2 separate regions of the Homo sapiens genome follow, and region 1 is linked to region 2. Evidence: promoter capture Hi-C in 16 types of primary human blood cells and fetal thymus (Javierre and others, 2016). All regions are on one chromosome and are shown on one strand. Each heading gives the region's core, a stretch centred on a gene start or on the middle of the fragment in contact. The rest is flanking DNA. Distances are from core to core; before and after follow the strand shown. Region 1 overlaps TTYH1 (tweety family member 1). Region 2 holds the start of LILRA6 (leukocyte immunoglobulin like receptor A6).

The links. Contacts are between HindIII fragments. The CHiCAGO score rates a contact against its expected background, and 5 or more counts as called.
Region 1: a contact is called between a fragment that was not itself captured here and the fragment with the promoter of LILRA6 in region 2, in 1 of 17 cell types (monocytes). The highest score is 6.0, in monocytes.

The regions. Positions count from the first base shown.
Region 1 is chr19:54,436,770-54,440,315 of GRCh38, forward strand. TTYH1 (tweety family member 1) reads left to right here. Exons shown (of 14, transcript NM_020659.4): 14 at 1-135. Among named protein-coding and RNA genes, the nearest start is that of LENG8-AS1, 10 kb to the right of the region's middle. The HindIII fragment of the contact is 1,153 bases long and covers 1,523-2,675 here.
Region 2 is chr19:54,240,406-54,244,053 of GRCh38, forward strand. It overlaps LILRA6 (leukocyte immunoglobulin like receptor A6), which reads right to left and starts at 2,385. Exons shown (of 8, transcript NM_024318.5): 1 at 2,313-2,385; 2 at 2,114-2,149; 3 at 1,621-1,905; 4 at 1,171-1,473; 5 at 426-722; 6 at 1-171. The coding sequence starts at 2,346. LOC107987463 (a long non-coding RNA gene) reads right to left here. Exons shown (of 3, transcript XR_007067341.1): 3 at 2,988-3,056. RefSeq lists an enhancer at 3,460-3,648. The HindIII fragment of the contact is 25,461 bases long and covers 1-3,648 here.

The sequences.
Region 1 (3,546 bases), core at 849-3,348, 200 kb after region 2:
GCTGGGACATCCTCCCTGCTGTCCTCTCTCCCCCGGCCTCCCAGCTGCCAGGAATTTCTGCGCCTGTCCAGGCTCAGCAAGGGGTCCAAAGACATTGTTCTTTAAAAAAAAAAAAAAAAAAATCAAAAAACAAAACGCTTTCTTCTGATTCTAAAAGTAATGCGCGTGTCCTGACACAGGAAGACACAGGCATCTCTGGCACAGAATAGATGGCCTAGAAATAGATCTAACTGTGTGTGTGTGTGTGTGTGTGTGTATATATATATATACACACATGACAGAAGACAGATTTCAAGTCAGTGTGGAAAGGACGGTTGGTTTAGCAGCAGTAGTGACATATCGGCTCTCCATCTGGCCAAAAACTTCTATAGATAAGATGGGTGGAAGATCTAGATGTATGCAAGTAAAGGCACAGAAGAATTTCTAGAGAAATTAGGAGGGTGGGCATGGTGGTGCATGCCTGTGGTTCCAGCTACTCGGGAGGCTGAGACTCCTTGCTTGAGCCCGTTTCGAGGTAGCAGTGAGCTGTGATCGTGCCACTGCACTCCAGCCTGGGCAACAGAGCAAGACCCTGCCTCTTTTTTTTTTTTTTTTTTTGTTTTTGAGACGGAGTCTCGCTCTGTCACCCAGGTTGGAGTGCAGTGGCGCGATCTCGGCTCACTGCAAGCTCCGCCTCCCAGGTTCATGCCATTCTCCTGCCTCAGCCTCCCAAGTAGCTGGGACTACAGGCGCCCGCCAACACGTCCGGCTAATTTTTTGTATTTTTAGTAGAAACGGGGTTTCACCGTGTTAGCCAAGATGGTCTCGATCTCCTGACCTCGTGATCCGCCCGTCTCGGCCTCCCAAAGTGCTGGGAATACAGGCGTGAGCCACCGCGCCCGGCCAAGACCCTGCCTCTTAAAAAAAAAAAAAAAAAAAGACAAAAAACAGAGAGAGGCTGGCTGCGGTGGCTCATGACTGTAATCCCAGCATTTTGAGAGGCCAAGGTGGGTGGATCCCTTGAGGCCAGGAGTTTGAGAGCAGAGTGGCCAACATGGTGAAACCCCGTCTCTACTTAAAGAAAAAAAAAATTAGCTGGGCATGGTGGCACAGGTCTGTAAGCCCAGCTACTCGGGAGGCTGAGGCAGGAGAATTGCTTGAACCCGGGAGGTGGAGGTTGCACCACTGTACTCCAGCCTGGGAGATCAAGTGAGACTCCATCTCAGAAAAAAACAAAACAAAACAAAACAAACCAGAGAAATTAGGAGAATATTTGTATATTGTCTGCATGTCATGTATCTGGGTAGGGAAAATGGGGAGGGAGGAGTTTAAGCAGGAGATCATAAAACCAGAAAGGAAAAGATAGCTTAGTTGGCAAATTATAGATTGAAAAACATACCGTAAAGTCAAATGGCAAATTGACAGACTGGGGAACAGTGAGTGTGTGCGTGCGTGTGTGTGTGTGTGTGTGTGTGTGTGTGTGTGTGTGTATGTTAACAGTTATGATGCAGAAATGTTATTCTTAAAAGATATAATCTACAAAAGCTTTCATAAACTAAGAAAAAGACAACCCATTTAAAAGTAATCAATTGAGTTGAATACTCAATAAAAATTCCAACATCAGTAAACAGACAAAAAGATTCAAACTCTAATAATTGGGAAATGCAATTTGAAAGAATGAGAAACTACACTTTTTCACTACCTAGACACAATGAAATTAACAAGAGTGGTGATGTCCTGGGCGGGCGAGGACCTAGAGGAACAGGCACTCAAAACACTTCTCCTGAGGCTGTGAGCTGCCACCATCCCTTGAAAAAAAAAAAAAATGCGCTTGTATGTGATCAGATCAAAACTGCATACACCCCATGCCCCAACAATCCTGCTTTTGGGAATTGATTTACAGAAAAAGACACACAGGCTTCTGAAGACTTCTATTTAGAGCTGCCTGTTACAACGATACCACTTTGATCAGCTAAACCCTGAAAACAAACATGCACAAAAAGAGAAGTCCAATAACTGACTGCACAGCAGGGCTCTCTGGAAGAAACCAGCTCTTGGCTGAGTTGAGGATGTGAGGGAAAAGCCTGGCAGAGAGGAGCTATCAGAGCAGGGTGTGGCAGACAGCAGTGGCAGAGTGGACTGAAGGAGAGGGGCCTGCACAGTGAAGGGCCCAGCTTATCATTCAAGGCACCCCAGGCCACCATCCTGGCCCTGCTTTTCATGACCTTCACGGATATGGGAAAGTCACTTGACCCGTTAGACCTCGGTTGCCTCTTTGATCAAACGGGTATCAGAAATCCAAAATTCCAAAATCCACAGATCCAAAGAGCTCCAAAGTCAAGCCATCCCCAAGCTCATTGGGCAGGAAAACCTGACCTGTGTTGGTGGGAGATGACTTACAGACATGACTGACACGCTTGGTGTGAACGTTCACATACTTCCCTGCAGAAAAGTTAACCAGGCTGCTGCACACTGCTGTGCTGAGCACTGAGGGTGCCGTGTGCCCTGTGGAGTAGAGATCATATTGCCTTTGCAACTGAAAAATCCTGAATCTCAACACACACCTGGCTCCGAGGGGATCGAGTTGGTGCTTGGTGACCCACAGTGCCAGATGCTGGTGTACAGCGTGGGGCCTGCTGCTGCTCTGTGCCTGTCAATCATTTCTATTTTGTGTACTGCAAGGAGCGTTCAGAGGAAGCTTTAGATATGTGGGCCTGACGGTGGGAATAAAAATCAACTGCAATTTCAGGGAGGGGTTCTGGGGGCCACATGCGTTCACTCACTTTTTCCTAACCATGTGGGCTGTCTGCCCCAGGCCCGGCCCTGCTGCTATGCTGACTTCTTTCCTCTCAAACACTGCCCTCTAGTGCCCCTGAGCCCATTTCCCAAGCACAGGCATCCGCTGGCTGTTGGGCGGCTGCAAAGTACCTTGAGACTCAGCTGCTTGATCTCCCATGCCAATGAGCCTGGGGGTGATCTCTCAACAAGAAGTTGGCCGGGCACCCTGGCTCACGCCTGTAATCCCAGCACTGTGGGAGGCTGGGGCAGGCGATCACCTGAGGTCAGGAGTTTGAGACCAGCCTGGCCAACACGGTGAAACCCCATCTCTACTAAACACAAAAATTAGCCGGGCATGGTGGCGGGCGCCTGCAATCCCAGCTACTCAGGAGGCTGAGGCAGGAGAATCACCTGAACCCGGGATGCGGAGCTTGCAGTGAGCCGAGATCGCGCCACTGCACTCCAGCCTGGGCGACAGAGCAAGACTCCGTCTCAAAAAAAAAAAAAAAAAAAAAAAAGGCATTTTACCCAAACTTTACAAAAGGAAAATCCAGTGTTATTTTTAGAATGTTACCTATGGGGGCTTCCACTGCGACCAGGATGGAGTCACAGAGACTGGACTTGACCCCCCAAAAATAGAGTAAATACAAGAAAACAACAGTGGTCAAGACTCTACCAAGAAAGTGATCCCTGAGGAACGGGAAACATCAAGGCAAGCCCTAAAATTGCCGCTGGGTCCTGTTGCAAGTTTCTAGACCACGGGACAGGGAGGGAAGACTGAGGCGGAGC
Region 2 (3,648 bases), core at 1,135-3,634:
TATGAGCTCCGTACATTGATCTCAGACGCAGTGGGGGATGGGCTGCCCCTTCTTTGGTCAGAAGGAAAGTGTCAAACTGCCACCATGACTGACACAGCAGGGTCACGTTCTCTCCTGAGGCCACTGTGGGGCCCGGCTGTGCTGACAGGGAGACGGTGTCATAGATCTGTCCTGGAGAGAAGAAGGATGGGTGAGGGGCTGCCCCACCTTGCTCTGAGCTGACACCTCCCCAGGCCTCTCCCTGGGACCCTCAGTGTCTCTGTCTCTGTTTTCTCTGAGTCTCGCCTCCCCGCCCATCCCCTGTCTCTGTCTGTCTCTCCCTCCCTTGGGACCCCCACCCCTCATCCCGGCCATCACCACCTGGGCTCCCCCGGCAGGGCCTGTGCAGAGCCTGGGTCCCTGACTGAACCCGCTGGGCTCCTCACCTGCCATCAGGATGTTCAGGGGGTCGCTGGGGGCCGACCACTCGGAGGAGAGGTTGTGTGCACCATAGCACCTGTACTGGCCCCCGTGGGAGGGGCTCACAGGGCCCAGGGTGAAGTTGGCCTGGGAGAGCCCAGCCTGGGGCTGCTGGCCAGGGCGCTGGAGGAAGTCACGTTCCCCCTCCTTATACAGAACAAATCTGTCGTAGCCGACATCAGAGCCACACTGGAGGGTCAGGCTCTGCCCAGGGGCCAGGACAGGGCCCTGCAGGGTCAGGAGGGAGGGCTTCCTAGACACGCCTGGAGGGAAAGAGGAGCCAGGACTGAGAGGGCTGGTTCCTCCCACGCCCCTTCCTTCTCCCGTCCTGGCCCTGCAGGTCTCACTGTCTCTCATGCTCTGAGTCTCTGACCCCAGGGCCTCCTTCTCACCCGGGGCTGTCTTGGAGTCATTTCAGAGGAGTGGGGTCTCCCTAGCCCTGGCCACTGTGCCTGATCTTTCCTCCTCTCCCTGAGAGCTGGGACCTCACAGCAAACACACCGATGCCTTCCTGAGTCCTCCCCGTTCAGGTGAGCGTGGCTGAGGGCTCCTCCTCCCATGTCAGAGCCTCCCCATGGGGTCTCCCTCATGCCTTCAGCCCGTCCTTCAACACATCACTCTGGGTCCTTTCCAGATTCAGTCACCAGCCAAACTCCCCACAACCTGTCAGCTGCCCCGAAAGTGTGTTAGACAAGGCCGTGGCTCCCTCACCTGAGGGCAGAATCTCCAGGGGGTCACTGGGGTGGGACCACACCCGGGGGGTGTTCATATAATAGTAATAGCATGTGAACCTCCACCTGTGGCTGGGGTTCACGGGGCCCACAGGGAACAGGGCCTGGAACCCCCCACTGTGGAGCTGCTGTGAGTCCAGGGTCCGGGGGAGCTGGTGTTCTCCTTCCTTCATCAGAACAAAATGGTGATATCCCTTCTGTGAGCCACATTGGAGGGTCATATTCCCCCCTGAGGCCACCACAGGGCTGGGCAGGGCTGAGAGGGTGGGTTTGCTATAGGCTCCTAGGAGAGAAAGAGGCACCATGTTAAATGGGGCTCCCACCTCCCACATCATCCCCAGGGCTGGGCTGTGAGAGGGAGACACCCCTGAGAGCCGACCCCCTTCCTGAGGGCAGAGCCTGGGGCTGGGACCCCAGAGTGTCCTCTCACCTGTCATCACCAGCTCCAGGGGGTCGCTGGGCTCTGACCAGCCTGCAGAGCTGTAATAGTGGCAGCGGTATCTCCCCGCATGGTGCTCTGTTATGGATGGGATGGAGAATCTGGCCTTGTTCTTGGGTTCCAGTGGGTTATTTCTGTCCCAGGGCTCTGGGCTTCCCTCTTTATCCAGTCGGTACTCCTGGGCCTCCAGGCTCCCCTGACACCAGATGGTCACGGGGCTCCCCCAGCTGATCACAGAGCCTGGCTCAGCCCAGAGGGTGGGTTTGGGGAAGGGCCCTAGATGGAAATCAGAGGCTGGATCCCAAGACATCCCCACGCTCAGATCCCAGCTCCCAGCCCCAGGACTTCCTCATCATCCCCATCAGTCACCCAGAACTACTGTCTCCTCCCCACCCAGAACTGCTGTCTCCTCCCCCAGCTGCCCATGTGTGGCCCTTGTCCCTAGTAAGGATGAGGGACCTGGGACAGCTGGGGACAGACTCACCTGCCTGCACGTGGGTCCTGGGGCCCAGACTCAGCCCTGGAAGAGAATTCCCTGTGAGGCATTTGCCCTGAAGCCTGAGCAGGTCCTCCCCGCCCTGGTGCCTCCTGAGCTTTTGAGGTCTCCTGATGGACCAGGGCTTGTGTGTGGGGTGGGGTTCCTCCAAGACTCAGATCTCCCCCTCCCCATCTTGAAATCTCACCTAGGCAGAGCAGGGCTGCGAGGGTGGGGGTCATGGCGTCTCCTCCTGGTGACCCCGGGCTCTGCAGAGGGATGAGCCCTCAGTGCTGGCAGGACAGAGAGACACACAGGGTGTGGCCGCTCGGAGGCTGGGTCCTTCTTGTCATGGGGTTGTCTCATCCTCAGCCCACAGGAAGAGGAACTGCCACCCCAGGAACCTGGCTCTGATTTCCCCAGGGCTGAAGTGGGGGCAGGCACCAGGCTCTCTGCAGGCATTTCAGAGAGAAATGGGGTCTCCCTGCCCCCGGGCCACTGTCTGCCTGATTTATCTTTATCTCACTGAGAGCTAGGACACAGCAGCAAATAGAACCAGTGCCTTCTGGAGTCAGCCCCTTTGAGGCGAGGGTGACTGTGGGCTCATCCTCCCTCTCAGAGCCTCCCCATGGGGTCTCCCTCCCTCCTTCAGCCCGTCCATCAGCTCAGCGTTACGGGGTCCTTACCATGGCAGTCGTCTCTCCAGCCCTGGAGATGCTTCAGGGAAGACCCAGGTCCATGCTGCAGGCAGACTCAGATCAGCAGAGACGCACCTGACACCTGGCTGTGTAGTCCAGGCTGAGCTGCGTGTAGCAGTGAGCACAGAGGAGAAATGCAGCGTCTACCGTGGTGGCTCATGCCTGGAATCCCAGCACTTCAGGAGGCTGTGGCGGGTGATGGCTTGAGGCCAGGAGCTTCAGACAGTCCTGGGAAACAGACTGTGACCCTGTTTCTACAGAAAAGAAAAAAGTGAGCTGGGCATGGAGGCTCATGCCTGTGGTCCCAGCTACTCAGGAGGCTGAGGTGGGAGGACCACCTGGGCCCGGGAGGCGGAGGCTGCAGGGAGATATGATCACCCCTTGGCCTTCCAGCCTGGGCGACAGCGCAGGATCCTGTCTGAAAAGGAGAAATAGAGGGGATAAAGAGAAATATATATATATATATATATATGTTTCATTGTAATCTATAATCTGATTCTGGGGAAGGTGAGCTGATTTGTATTTAATTCCTGATTATCATCTAGGGTTTATGAGACTTTGGACATGAATGTCACCTCTGAGCCTGCTGTCGTGAACCCCACTCATCACAGTGGCTGTGGGGGTCAGTGGTGCCCAGGACATGGGAGGCTCAGCCATGGTGAATTTCCAGACCAGTTCAGACAGGAGGGTGGGGACGGGAGAGGATCCTGGTGCTGGGCTCCACAGTTGAGGAGGATGATTGACGCCCCCATTCAAGAGCCCACATTGGCTCCAAATACCATGAAATTCTTGTGATACGTCTGAAATATGCAGATCATCACAGCCACAGGCCGAGAAAGAGGAAGA